Regions from separate parts of the Homo sapiens genome. Here region 2 is linked to region 1. The links are contacts of gene promoters, found by promoter capture Hi-C in human tissues and cell types (Jung and others, 2019). All regions are on one chromosome and are shown on one strand. The core of a region is centred on a gene start or on the middle of the fragment in contact, and the rest is flanking DNA. Distances in the headings are between cores, read along the strand shown. Region 1 holds the start of CNNM2 (cyclin and CBS domain divalent metal cation transport mediator 2). Region 2 overlaps WBP1L (WW domain binding protein 1 like).

The links. Contacts are between HindIII fragments. The study calls those that stand out against the background at their distance.
Region 2: a contact is called between a fragment that was not itself captured here and the fragment with the promoter of CNNM2 in region 1, in 1 of the 25 tissues and cell types used here (adrenal gland).

The regions. Positions count from the first base shown.
Region 1 is chr10:102,913,735-102,921,505 of GRCh38, forward strand. CNNM2 (cyclin and CBS domain divalent metal cation transport mediator 2) reads left to right here and starts at 4,560. Exons shown (of 8, transcript NM_017649.5): 1 at 4,560-6,367. The coding sequence starts at 4,747. LOC107984265 (a long non-coding RNA gene) reads right to left here and starts at 4,601. Exons shown (of 3, transcript NR_160733.1): 1 at 4,434-4,601. RefSeq lists enhancers at 3,513-4,199, 4,200-4,886 and silencers at 4,356-4,535, 5,146-5,235. The HindIII fragment of the contact is 11,141 bases long and covers 1-7,771 here.
Region 2 is chr10:102,787,657-102,794,419 of GRCh38, forward strand. The region is part of intron 1 of WBP1L (WW domain binding protein 1 like); the gene reads left to right. Among named protein-coding and RNA genes, the nearest start is that of CYP17A1-AS1, 42 kb to the right of the region's middle. The HindIII fragment of the contact is 4,714 bases long and covers 1-3,873 here.

The DNA.
Region 1 (7,771 bases), core at 3,310-5,809:
TGATACCGTTGAAGCAATAAATACGAATACTTTTTATAAGTAGGCAATTTTTGGAAAAAAGAAAAGCTTCTCTATAAAATCAGCTTTATGTTCAGCAACAAAATGTGTAGAATGACATTTAGTGTTTTACTTGCCATCTTTAAGAAAATCAAACTTATCAAACTTTAAAAGACTTTTAGGTCTGGATGCAATGCCTTCTAAATCCCTGAACCTACAGACTTGGGAGCTTATCTTTTGCAGATGAGAAAATTGAAGTCACCTTTCCCTTTTAGTATATAGTGAAGGATTCTGGAAAGAGAGGGTTAGTTAGGGAAGGTATGTGGTTCTAGCTTTATCTAAATGACTTGCCCAAGGTCAGACCGTCAGAACTTTAAATAGGATTGGGCAGCAGCAGCAACCATTTAGCAATCTTGGGCCTTTTGTCCCCCTTTATGGAGGTGAAATATCATAATTCAAGAGCCTCATTTTTGTTTTTCTTCCAGATTTCAGAAGAGATCCCTAGAGGCAGGTGTTGACCTTGCCCTCCATTTAAACAAATGGACGGGCTGGGAAGTCCCTGGAAGTCACCATAAGCCTGCTCTATAGCAGGTACTCACTAAAGAGGGTAACGGCCGAGCATGGTAGTTCACGCCTGTAATCCCAGCACTTTGGGAAGCCGAGGCAGGCAGATCACCTGAGGTCAGGAGTTCGAGACCAGCCTGCCCAACATGGCAAAACCCCGTCTCTACTAAAAATACAAAAAATTAGCCGGGCGTGGTGGCAGGCTCCTGTAATCTCAGCTACTTGGGAGGCTAAGGCAGGAGAATTGCTTGAACCTGGGAAGCAGAGCTTGCAGTGAGCTGAGATCATGCTGCTGCACTGCACTTTAGCCTGGGCGACGAGCAAAACTCCTTCCCCACCACAAAAAAAAAAAAAAAAAAAAAAAAAAAGAAGAGAAACTACTGAAGCCAAAAAGCCTCCAAACTTGAAGATCCCTCTTGCTAAGGAACAATTACTTGACTTAGGCATCTAGATTGCTCTGTGTGTCTTGAGTATACATGAAGAGTATAAACCCCCACCAACCATCCAGGATCATTCAGCAACCCTCTGTGTGAATTTGAGTTTTTTTTTTTTTTTAATATTGTAAGTTGTCTGGGTGTCCTTTCTGACCTTTTCTTCTATGAAGTCCTGAATTTCTAACTTGCTTCTAAATTGCTGAATGTCACATTGTCCTGTTGTAGCTTTCTCTGAAATGCACAGGAAATGTCTGTAGGGTTGGCAAGCTCCTCCTCCCCCGACTTCACTCCTATTCCACACATGTACTTTCAGCATTTGAGAGCCTGTCTTCTCTCTTAGCTCCCTTAAAAACATTTGTAGTATTTCCACTTTTTATGAAGTTAAAATGGTTTATTTTCAATCCACTGAGTTAGAAGGATCATGTCTATCCTTAACCTTTGCCAAATATCCTTAAAAATCATTTTTTTCTTGGGAAACTTCCATAATGCCATTCTTATAAATGCATGCCAAGCCTGAGCCTGTGGGTGGTTTTCTTCATCTGAACTTACTTTTCAAATATAGCAGTATGAGACTTGAGGTAGGGGAAGCAGCATCAGAAATGGAAGGGCTGGAAACTAGACTCAGGACATTGTTTAAAATAATCAGAATAAATACTTTCATTTATTTAACATTCTACATATATTGTTTTGAATATCTATCATTGGCCAGGCCTGGTGGCTCATACATGTAATCCCAGCACTTTGGGAGGCCAAGTAAGGAGGATCTCTTGAGGCAAGAAGTTTGAGACCAGCCTGGGAACATGGCGAAACCCTGTCTCTACTAAAAATTAAAAAAAAAATTAGGCAGATGTGGTGGCATGTGCCGGTAGTCCCAGCTACTTGGGAGGCTGAGCCCAGGAAGTGGAGACTGCAGTGAGCCATGATTGTGCCACTGCACTCCAGCCTGGATGACAGAGCGAGACCCTGTTTTGTTTGTTTGTTTTAAAAAAAGAATAAAGAATATCTAGGGCCAGGTGTGGTGGCTCATGCCTGTAATCCAGGCACTTTGGGAGGCCCAAATGGGTGGATCACCTGAGGTCCGGAGTTTGAGACCAGCCTAGCCAACATATAGTGAAATCTCGTCTCTACTAAAAATACAAAAATTAGCTGGGCGAAGTGGTGCATGCCTGTAGTCCCAGCTACTTGGGAAGCTGAGGCAAGAGAGAATCCTTTGAACCTAGGAGGCAGAGGTTGCAGTGAGCCGAGATCGCACCACTGCACTCCAGCCTGGGTGCCAGAATGAGACTCCATCTCTCTCTCTCAAAAAAAAAAAAGAAATATATATATATATATATATATATATATATATAAAATATATATGTATATAATATACATCTATCTATCTATATATCTACTATTCTTCTAGGCCCCTGTGATACAGCAGTGAACAAACAGACACACTTTCTGCCCTCAGGGAGCTTAAGTTCTAGTGGAAGAAGACAGATAACAAACCAAATCAATAATTTACATAGTGTATTAGAAAGTGATCTTTGCTTTCAAGAAAAATAAAGTAGACGCGGCATAGAGGGAGTGTTTTCCGCAAGTTTAAAATCAGATGGCTTTTGAGCAAAGCACTAAAGGAGGTGAACAACAAGGCTATGCTGACATCTGGGGGAAGAAAGTCCCAAGCCCAGGAAACAAACAGTAAGTGCAAAGGCTCGCAAGGGAAAATCCCTGGAGTGATGGAGAAACAGTTTGGAGAGAAATTAATTTGGCTTATTATCAGTCTCCTTCCACTAGGAGAGCAGCAGGTAATGAGGTCCGAGAAGTAACGGGAGGTAGCAGACCTTCGAGCCTAGTAGGATGTTGTAGGTCCTTTGGCTTTCTCTAGGATGAGATGGGAAGCCAATGGAGGCGTTTCAGCCAAGGGAGCAACAGAATCTCATGGACAAGATCACTTGCTGCTGGGTTGAGAAGGGAAAGGAACAGGTATCGAAGAGGAAAGATCAGTTAGGAGGCCACTGCAATCATTCCAGAAATTACTCATACCAGAAATTAATCAGAGACGTTTGATGCATTTACAAAAGCGGTGGTAGGGGGGCGCGGGATGTGCTTGTAGAATACAAAAGAGGTAGAGAAACATTAAACATTTTGAATGTTTTAAGTTTCTTTTTTTTCTTTTTTTTTTTTTGATACGGAGTCTCCCTGTGTCACCCAGGCTGGAGTGCAGTGGCGCGATCTCGGCTCACTGCAAGCTCCGCCTCCCGGGTTCACGCCATTCTCCTGCCTCAGCCTCTCCGAGTAGCTGGGACTACAGGCGCCCGCCACCATGCCCGGTTAATTTTTTGTATTTTTAGTAGAGACGGGGTTTCACCGTGGTCTACGATCTCCTGACCTCATGCTCCGCCCGCCTCGGCCTCCCAAAGTACTGGGATTACAAGCGTGAGCCACCAACGCCCGGCCTGAATGTTTTAAGTTTCAAGGAAAAGACCAATTTGGCAGCTACTCTGCTACCTCGTCACCTCCAGGTGACGTTGGGAGTACTGGGGAGCTAGGTTTCCAGAACTTTTTGCTCTTGAGTGACCTAAGACCCTAGCAGAGTTTGGTCAGTGTGATTAAGAATGAGCCTCTGTGGGTCTGTTTAGGATGCTTGCCCCCTCCCATTTCCTTAACTTGCCTGAATTCCTGCTGGGAATACAGATTCGGGGCCCTTCCCACTCTGTAAATATGGGAAAAGGTCTAGGAAGTATATACTCCTAGCAATAATATGTAGGGGTTCTATGACTAGGAAATTTGGGGAACTGTCCCCCTGACCGCTCCATCCGTAACTTCTGCACACCTTTTGGGGTACGCCGCCGACCTGGAAAGCGTTGCAGGGCGCTCATGCTGCCCGCAGGTGGCGCCACGTGATCGCGAGCCGCAGAGAGCCCGTACCCTAGGAGTCTCGAGGCGCGAGGACTGCTGGTCCGCAGCTGTGCCGGGGCCACCGACGCCGCTTACCCCGGCGGAGCGCCGCGCAGGTGGAGTTGGGGACAGCGGCCGGTGCCCCGGCTTTTTAGGCTGTGTGCATCCCAAGCCGCCTCTAGTTGGCTTCTCGGGCTTCCGGGGCAGGAGGGCGCGCGGCTTTGTGCCTACGAATTGAGAACTGGAGAGCCAGTAACCGGTGCACCGGGAACCTGCCGCCTTGCGCCGCAGGGCTTTAGTCCAAACCTGGCCGGTCCAGGCTCCGGGATCTACTACAGGGGCCCCTGGGGAGCGCGGGCCCCAGGGACGGCTCCTTCCCATTGGCAGCAGGACGGATGCCACGCCCCTTTTTCTTCAGCTCTCATCTTTGACTGGCTCTCGAGTCCCAGATGGCCACGCCCCCTCCCCTCGCACATACACAAGAGTCACGCGCCTTTCAGTTGGAAACTTGGCGTGCAGACGGGGACGGTGGCTCTCGTCGCCCCACCCACTTACCTTGCCATTGGTCCGCGGAGCGGCACACGGTCACGCCCCCATTCCAGCCCCCTGGCTGGGAGGGCGGGCACCCGCTTGTGATTGGCTGGTCGGCCTGCCTCTCGCGGGAGCAGCCGGCGCTCCTCTCCCTCCCTCTTTCCCTCCCGCGAGCCTCGGGGTTCCTCAGCTGGCTGAGGTGGAGTCAGTGTCAGTCAGGGAGGCGAACTGCTGAGCACTGGCCGCGGACGCTCCGTTGCAGTCTCGCCCAGGGGCCGGTACCTGCGCTCGCGCCGCCGGGTTGAAAGGATGAAGCCGCAGCTGGAGCAGCCACCCTATGATTGGCTGTGGCGCTTGTGAACCCAAAGTAAAGATGGCGGGCGGGCAGGCAGCCGCCGCACTGCCCACTTGGAAGATGGCGGCGCGCCGCAGCCTCAGCGCTCGCGGCCGGGGGATCCTGCAGGCGGCTGCGGGGCGGCTGCTGCCGCTGCTCCTGCTGAGCTGCTGCTGCGGTGCGGGCGGCTGCGCAGCGGTGGGCGAGAATGAGGAGACGGTGATCATCGGGCTGCGACTGGAGGACACGAACGACGTGTCGTTCATGGAAGGGGGGGCGCTGCGGGTGAGCGAACGGACCCGGGTCAAGCTGCGGGTGTACGGGCAGAACATCAATAACGAGACGTGGTCCCGCATCGCCTTCACCGAGCACGAGCGGCGGCGCCACAGCCCGGGGGAGCGCGGGCTGGGGGGCCCCGCGCCGCCAGAGCCGGACAGCGGCCCCCAGCGATGCGGCATCCGCACCTCAGACATCATCATCTTGCCCCACATCATTCTCAACCGCCGCACCTCGGGCATCATCGAGATCGAGATCAAACCGCTACGCAAGATGGAGAAGAGCAAGTCCTATTACCTGTGCACGTCGCTCTCCACGCCCGCCCTGGGCGCCGGCGGCTCGGGGTCCACGGGTGGCGCCGTCGGGGGCAAGGGTGGCTCGGGGGTGGCCGGGCTCCCGCCGCCCCCGTGGGCCGAGACCACCTGGATTTACCACGACGGCGAGGACACCAAGATGATCGTAGGCGAAGAGAAGAAGTTCCTGCTGCCCTTCTGGCTGCAGGTGATCTTCATTTCGCTGCTGCTGTGCCTGTCGGGCATGTTCAGCGGCCTCAACCTGGGGCTCATGGCCCTGGACCCGATGGAGCTGCGCATCGTGCAGAACTGCGGCACGGAGAAGGAGAAGAATTACGCCAAGCGCATCGAGCCGGTGCGCAGGCAGGGCAACTACCTGCTGTGCTCACTGCTGCTGGGCAACGTGCTGGTCAACACCACGCTCACCATCCTGCTCGACGACATCGCCGGCTCGGGCCTCGTGGCCGTGGTAGTCTCCACCATCGGTATCGTCATCTTCGGAGAGATCGTGCCCCAGGCCATCTGCTCCCGGCATGGCCTGGCTGTGGGGGCCAACACCATCTTCCTCACCAAGTTTTTCATGATGATGACCTTCCCCGCTTCCTACCCGGTCAGCAAGCTGCTGGACTGCGTCCTGGGCCAGGAGATAGGCACCGTCTATAACCGGGAAAAACTGCTGGAGATGCTCCGGGTCACCGATCCCTACAACGACCTCGTTAAGGAGGAGCTGAACATCATCCAAGGGGCGCTGGAGCTCCGCACCAAGACGGTGGAGGACGTGATGACCCCACTCCGGGACTGCTTCATGATCACCGGCGAAGCCATCCTGGACTTCAACACCATGTCTGAGATCATGGAGAGCGGCTACACCCGCATTCCAGTGTTTGAAGGGGAGCGCTCCAATATCGTGGACCTGCTGTTTGTCAAAGACTTGGCCTTCGTGGATCCCGATGACTGTACCCCCCTGAAAACCATCACCAAATTTTATAACCACCCCTTGCACTTTGTTTTCAATGACACCAAGTTGGACGCTATGCTGGAAGAATTTAAGAAAGGTGGGAAATTTTGGTCTCTTTCATTGGCTTGCTCTTTCTCTCTCCATCCTCCTCCCTACTTGAGTCCTCTACCCTCAGACCAACCCCCCAAGGCGAGTTGACCGGGATTTCTCCTTCTCCCTCTTAATTGCAAAGTTGAAAGGGTGGCGTGGATTTGGGGATGGATTGAACTAGTAAGTGCTACTAGGTTATTTTAAAGCACAAGACTGCCATCACTTACTTTTTCCCATTATCAAAAAGCAGGCTGTGTAATTTCTGTGCATGACACTTATTTATTTTTTTTTTTTTGGTCCCGTGTGTGGGCCTCTGTTCTTGAGGGGTCTGCCGCCTTCATTGTCTGGGTTCTCAGTGAGTAGGTGAAGGTAGGGGCTGGCTGATGCCATGCCATTTGGTGGACTTTAATCACAGGCATTTGGAAAACATGTAACTAGCTTTTGTAAACCCAGTGCAGTCCTTTTTCTCCTCCTTAAACATCCACACTGGCCTTTCAAAGATCGAAGTACATTTTCTATAGCTTCTGTTCCTGCTTGCCTGGCAACTTGTGGGGAAGATTGAGGTCTGCCTTTGAGGGTAAGGGGTGGGGTAAACTAAGTATCGCCAAAAAAAATCACCCATTTTGGATGTGACTTCTCTTAGCTAGAAAAGAGTTGTTGTTGTTGTTTTAAATTAAAGTTATTAATATGTAACTTGGAAAGATTAGAGGTTAGCCAGCCTTTTGTGAAGAGGCTGTATGTCCCGTAGCCTTCTTCACTATTTGTTTACATTTATCTGACAACAGTTACAGTTGCCCAAACCAAGTGTGATTTTGGCAGAAAGCTTGAACCTTTAACAGTGGGATGAATCCCTCTATTGGGGCTTATTTATTTCTTGACTCTTTCAGTTTAACGTGTTCTTTTTTTCCACCTTGATCATCCGATACATTAAGTTGAAGTATGTCTCCGTCAACTCTCACCGTTCCAAGATGCTTATACAGTACATCATTTATATTTGTTCGTTTGACCATATAATGAACAGGTAAATAGCAACTTGTACTATTATTATTGAAGTTCTGAATGTTTCCAGTAAATAGTGTTATTTGAAAACCAAGGGATGCTGAGTTTTTGAATTATTAAGATGCTAGGGCATGTGCAGGTATTGAAATGTGTATGTAACCTTTCGTGACCTGATAGTCCTCAAAACCAAGTTTCCCTTCTTCAAATAGAATTTTGATCACTGGTAGTAGTCTCTCCTCTGAAAAAGGTGATATGTACCTGGTGACAGCTCACTGGATGTGATGATCTGAACATACTCAAAGAGTGTATGGTTGTCCTAATGCCATTTTTCTGGTTGAATGATGTCCTCTCTAGAACAGGATCACATTGTAGTAAGTTTTATGTAAAGGAACAGGGCAGAATGTGCTTTGAA
Region 2 (6,763 bases), core at 267-2,766, 130 kb before region 1:
GCATCATCCCCCTTCTTGAGCTTACTTTCTTCATCCTCAGCCCTTCTGTACTCTCCTTCTACCCAATTTGAAAATGTGTGCCCTTGAACAGTTCTCTTTATTTCCCTCAGGTCTTTGAACAGTCTAAAAAACCAATAGTGGTCAGGCACGGTGGCTCACGCCTGTAATCCCAGCACTTTGGGAGGCCGAGGTGGGCGGATCACCTGAGGTCAGGCGTGCGAGACCAGCCTGGCCAATATGGTGAAACCCTGTCTCTATTAATAATACAAAAAATTAGCTGGGCGTGGTGGTGCACGCCTGATGTCCCAGCTACTCGGGAGGCTGAGGCAGGAGAATCACTGGAACCTGGGAGGTGGTGGTTGCAGTGAGCCGAGATCGTGCCACTGTACTCTAGCCTGAGTGACAGAGACCCTGCCTCAGGAAAAAAAAAACAAAACCAATACTATCAGGGAGAACGTGATCTTAACTTTCTTTCTTTCTTTTTTTTTTTTTGAGACAGTCTCACTCTGTCACCCAGGCTGGAGTGCAGTGGTGCGATCTCGGCTCACTGCAACCTCTGCCTCCTGGGTTCATGCCATTCTCCTGCCTCAGCCTCCCGAGTAGCTACCACGCCCGGCTAATTTTTTGCATTTTTTAGTAGAGACGGGGTTTCACAGTGTTAGCCAGGATGGTCTTGATCTCCTGATCTCATGATCCGCCTGTTTCGGCCTCCCAAAGTGCTGGGATTACAGGCATGAGCCACCACACCTGGCTGATCTTAACTTTCTAATTGTAAAAATATAGGTAAAAATATAGGTGAATACATGAAGCTTTGCCTCCTTACCACCTACAAATATGTTTCTAAGGACCTGGGCTTGAAAGTGCTGCATTTTCAGAACTTGAAGATTCTATCTAGGATAGAACAAAAATAGCTGATTCTAAGTTAAAGTTGTTTGCTGTCTTATTTAGCCATTTCAAATGTCTGCTTTATGAAAACTGCGTTATCCTTTAGCTACAGAGCATTACCAAAATCATTTAGAACTTTTTCCTAGTAGATATGCAGTGCTAGACTTTGGTCTCCTTTCTAGAAAGCCATTCCTGGTTCAAGAATGGAAGGAAAGTTTGTTTTGTTGCTTACTCTGCAAGAGCAGCCACAACCTGGCTGGGGGGGATAAATAAAGGCTCAAGGTAAAGAATAAGTATGAGAGTTGCAAAAATATTTATATATTTATTCAAGTCTCCACCATAACCTAAGGGAGGGACTAGCCAAAGCCAACAATGAATTCATAAACTGTGGTACTTTGGAGATTATTTTATTTTATTTTATTATTTATTTTTTACTGAGACGGAGTCTTGCTCTGTTGCTCAGGCTGGAGTGCAGTGGCACAATCTCGGTTTGCTGCAACCTCCACCGCCTGGGTTCAAGTGATTCTTGTGCCTCAGCCTCCTGAGTAGCTGGGACTACAGGTGCGCACAACCACGCATGGCTAATTTTTTAAATATTTTTAATAGCGATGGGTTTTCGCCATGTTGGCCAGGCTGGTCTCGAATTCGTAACCTCAGGTGATCCACCTGCCTCAGCCTCCCAAAGTGCTGGGATTACAGGCATGAGCCACTGCACCCAGCCTGGAGATTATTTTAATTGTTATACAAAGCCTATGAGATCTGACCTCAGCTGAATTCTTAGCTCCCCTTTCACACTGCTTTCCCTGAGATCACTGTACTCAGCTACACTAGTCTTCTTTCTCTTCCTTGAGCACACCAAGCTTGTTTCTGCCCTGGTGTTTTTGCGTGGATTTGATATTTCTTCTTCCTGGAACACTGTTCTCACCGGTCTGGTTAAGCTGGCTCTTTTTCAGCAGTCAGGGCTCTACTCAGATGTCACCTACTCAGAGTGGCCTTTCCTGACCACCCTATCTAAAACTCTTTGTCTCATTATCGTGTTTTATTATCCTCATGGAGCTTATTACTGCTAGTGAAATTATAATTTTGCTTGTTAATTGTCCGTCTTCCCAACTGGAACATATTTAAAAATCTTTTTGCCTTTGTCACTCTGCAGTTTCATACAGTGTACCTAGGTGTGGGCTTCTTATTATCTGGAAATTTTGTATCTTTTTTTTTTTTTTTTTGACAGTCTCACTCTGTCACCCAGGCTGGAGTGCAGTGGCATGATCTCGGCTCACTGCAACCCCCGCCTCTCAGGTTCAAGCGATTTTCCTGCCTCAGCCTCCCGAGTAGCTGGGACTACAGGCGCCCGCCACCACGCCCAGCTAATTGTATTTTTAGTAGAGATGGGGTTTCACAGTGTTAGCCAGGATGGTCTCGATCTCCTGACCTCATGATCTGCCCAACTTGGCCTCCCAAAGTGCTGGGATTATAGGCATGAGCCACCACGCCCGGCCGAAATTTTGTATCTTTAATCAGTCTTATATAGAAAATTTTTAGTTATCCCTTTAAATATTTCCTCTCCTCCATTCTTTTCTTCTCAAGCTTCTTTCTCATTTTTCATTTCCATGTTTTCTCTTGTAGAAGCACTTTGATGGTAATTTTCTCAGATCTGTTCTCTAGTTCATCAATTTCCTCTTTAACTTGGTCTCCTCTCTGTGTGACCCATCTGTTGAGTTTTTTCTTTCAATAACTATTTTTCTACAAGTTTTATCTGCCTGTTACTATTTCTTGTTTGGTAGTGTTCTTTTCTTGTGTTTTTAATTCTTTCTTTTTGGCTTTAATCATTTGAGATATGCTTGTATCTTATAGGGACTTTTTTTCAGGGGGTCTTATCCTGCTATTTGTTGAATTTGTCATCTTGTTTGTAATGGATTAGTTTTGCATACATTTTTATATTTTGGATTGTGAGCTTATCTTCAACAGAACTTTATTTTTATTTTTATTTTTGAGACAGTCTCTCACTGTCGCCCAGGCTGGAGTACAATGGTGCAATCTCGGCTCACTGCAACCTCTGCCTCCCGGGTTCAAGCAATTCTCCTGCCTCAGCGTCCGGAGTAGCTGGGATTACAGGCGCCCGCCACCACGCCCAGCTAATTTTTTTGTATTTTTATTAGAGACAGGATTTCACTATGTTGGCCAGGCTGGTCTCGAATTCCTGACCTCGTCATCCGCCCGCCTCAGCCTCCCAAAGTCCTGGAATTACAAGCGTGAGCCACCGCGCCTGGCCAACAGAACTTTATGTGTAGGAATCCTTTGTGCCGTGGCTGAGGGTAGATCTGTTCAGTTTTGTATTTCTGCCAGATGTTGCAGGTTTATTGCCAGCCTGGGACTACTTTTTGTGTTAAATTTTTGGCTTGGGGATCCTCAGACCATGTAGTAGTACAATTCAAATCTGAAATAATCTGTGATCACACATTATTAGAGGAGATACTGTTTTCCTCCCACTTCAGAGTTTTTATTGTCACTATGTGCCAGTGGGCTAATGTTTTTTCTAATCTGTTCTCCCCCTCTGAGGGCGCCAGCTTTGTACTGGTTCTCAGTTCCAATTCCCTGTTTCAGGTGGGCCCAAGATCAACAAACTACCCCACTTTCTAGGTCAACTGGAAAGGCCTGATCTCATTTACTACTGTGGTTTCTAGTTCCCGCTGTCGTTTTTGGTCCCAGGTGATCCTCCTTGCTTTCTTGCAAGTTCAGCTTTGTAATTAAAAGTGATTGTTGTATAGCCAGGGTTTTATAGCAGAATAATTTTTAGTTACCTACCCAGCTATATTGCCAGAAGCGGAAACTCTCCCCTCCCACCCCCCGAATCTCTTGCTTATTGCTATAGCTATAGCATCCCACATAGTGCCTGGCACATGGTTGGGGGAAGGGGGTCAATACATATGTGTTAAATGATTTGGAGAACTGAACATTTCCATTAGGAATTAGTTCTTGGCCAGGCACGGTGGCTCACACCTGTAATCCCAGCACTTTGGGAGGCCGAGGTGGGAGGATCCCTTGAGCCCAGGAGTTCAAGACCAGCCTGGGCAACATGAGGAGACCCTGTCTCTATTTAAACAAACAAAAAAAGATTTAGTTCTTCCTGCAGGGAAAGCCAGAGGTGATGCTCCAAATTAATTCATATCCAGCAGCCAAGATATTTGGTGTCCTGTGCTTTAGCATCCCAGGAAGGACTTCAATTCTTATTTTTCACTCTTAAACTTTAAAGTGTTTTCCTAAGGACATGACGCTGTTGCCATTAGCCAGTTGCTAGCAGAGTTTTCCAGACCCATAAATTGGCAGATTAAAACCATGCCTGGGGAAACATTACTGCCCAGTGTGTCTTTTTATGCTGGCACTTAGAAAGTTTTTACGCTGATTAAATTGACCTTTACAGTGGCTCAGCTAAGAATAGCAACTGTAAGATGTGGAAACTGTTGAGGAAAATGTTGTTAGTCCCACAGTTTATACTGCCACCAAAGAGAGGAGATAATTTTTTGCATATGTGCAAAAGGCATACTGTTTATCCTTTCCAGTGTAAAAATGTTTTTTCCAGTTTGGTGTTGGTCTTGCTTGTCTCTTCTTTATGCCTTTGTTTTCTGTTTGGTAACCATGTGTGCCTTGTCTCTCAGAGCTGGTCACTGTGGCACCGGGGCTGAAGGCACATACCTGTAATAGATGGGGCTCCTAGTAGCCACTACCACGGTCATTCCCGAGGTGAAAGGCCTCGCGTAAGCGCATTCATTATGCACCAAAGTTCCTTTTTGACAAGTTGTACATTTCTAGCTTTCTGGGGTTTTGTTTTAGCCATGGAGTTTTGTGCAAATGAAAACATTGCCAGGAAGATGATATCTTTAAAATGCAAGTATGATCTTGTTACCTCCCTGTACAGAGTGGTCCCCACCTACCTAACTTTCCTATCTACTACTTCTACCATCTCCTTCTAGCCAAAAGGGCTTTGCTTGTAGCGTTTTCTCTGCCTGCGATGTTCTTCCCTGTCCTCTTCCTAGTTACTTTTTTTTTTCTTTTCTTTTTTTTTTTTTTTTTTTGAGACAGTGTTTCGCTCTTGTTGCCCAGGCTGGCGTGCAATGGTGCGATCTCAGCTCACCACAGCCTCCACCTCCCGGGTTCAAGCGATTCTTCTGCCTCAGGCTCCCAAGTAGCTGGGATTACAGGCATGTGCCACCACACCTGGCTAATTTTTGTATCTTTAGTAGAGACGGGGTTTCTCCATGCTGGTCAGGCTGGTTTCAAACTCCTGACCTCAAGTGATCTGCCTGCCTTGGCCTCCCAAATTGCTGGAATTACAGACGTGAGCCACCGCGCCGCCTAGTTACTGACTTTTTAACCGTACTGTCAATCTCAGTTCAAGCTTACCTTCCTCCCAGAAGCTGTTCTGGACCTTCTTGACCAGTTCCTGGGTCTTTTACTCACTGTCACCTAATCTGCACTTTTCCTTCCCAACATTTATTGTAGTCGCAGTTTTATCTGCGTAAGTATTTTACCATCTTTCATTAGACTGTAAGTTCCGTGAGGATGGCCTAAACAATATAATAATGTGTAATGTGCTTTGAAGATGCTTGGAAGAAAAGCATAAGCTAGGTGTGGTGGCTCATGCCTGTAACCCCAGCACTTTGGGAGGCCAAGATGGGACGATTGCTTAAGGCCAGGAGTTTGAGATCTGCCTGAGCAACATAGTGAGACCCTGCCTCTACCAAAAAAGTAAAAATAAAAAAGCCAGATATGGTGGCACATGCCTGTAGTCCTAGCTACTCGGGAGGCTGAGGCAGAAGGATCACGTGAGCCCAGGAGTTTGAGGCTGTAGTGAGCTACAGTCGTGCCACTGTACTCCAGCCTGGACAACAGAGCAAGACCTTGTCTCCAATAAATACGTAAATAGTAAAAGCATAGGATAATCATAAAGGGTGCTGATAATTTTTCATATTTGACCTTTCCATTGCATTCTTTCCAGTTCCTTTTTCTTTTCTTCTTCATGTGTCTGGAGCAGCCCACATTGCCACAGAGAACTTGGCTGTTCTGAAACAATTCTGAGTGAAGGCAAAGTGCTTTTTGGATGGTCTTTCATGCTCAGCAATAGTGGCTCACAGAATAATGTTGATAGTAGGAGCCCAGAGAATTTAATTAGCCCAAGGTCACACAGTTAATAGCCCTACTGTAAAAGCTGGGCTTTGAACCCAGATCCAGCTCACTCTTTTTTTTTTTTGAGACAGGGTCTGGCTCTGTCACCCAGGCTAGCGTGCAGTGGTGCAATCATGGCTTGCTGCAGCCTCAACCTTCTGGGCTCAAGCAGTCCTCCCACCTCAGCCTCCCAAGTAGCTGGGACTACAGGTGTGCAACATCACACCCAGCTAATTGTATTATTATTTTTTTGGTTGAGATGGGGTTTTGCCATGTCCAGGCTGGTCTCAAACTCCTGGGCTCCAGTAATCTGCCCACCTTGGCCTCCCAAAGTGCTGAAATTATAGGCGTGACCCACCACACCTGGCCCCAGCGAACTCTTAACTACTTAGGCTTTGTGTAGATCTTAAGCCACCGGGAGGTGTTTGAGTCCTAGGTGTGCAACAATTAGGCTCCTCATATAAGGAGGGGTGGAAGATCACCAGGCAGCATTTCCACACCACTGTTCTTTGCTGTGGATTTGCATGAGAGGAGACATAGATTTCATGATATCTTGCATTGGCTTGAGGCTGCTATGTCAGGGTGGAAAGGGGATGGGGAGGATAATAAAACCTTAAAGTTGAAGGAGACGGCTGGGCGTGGTGGCTCACGCCTGTAATCCCAGCTACTCGGGAGGCTGAGGCAGGAGAATCATTTGAACCCGGGAGGTGGAGGTTGC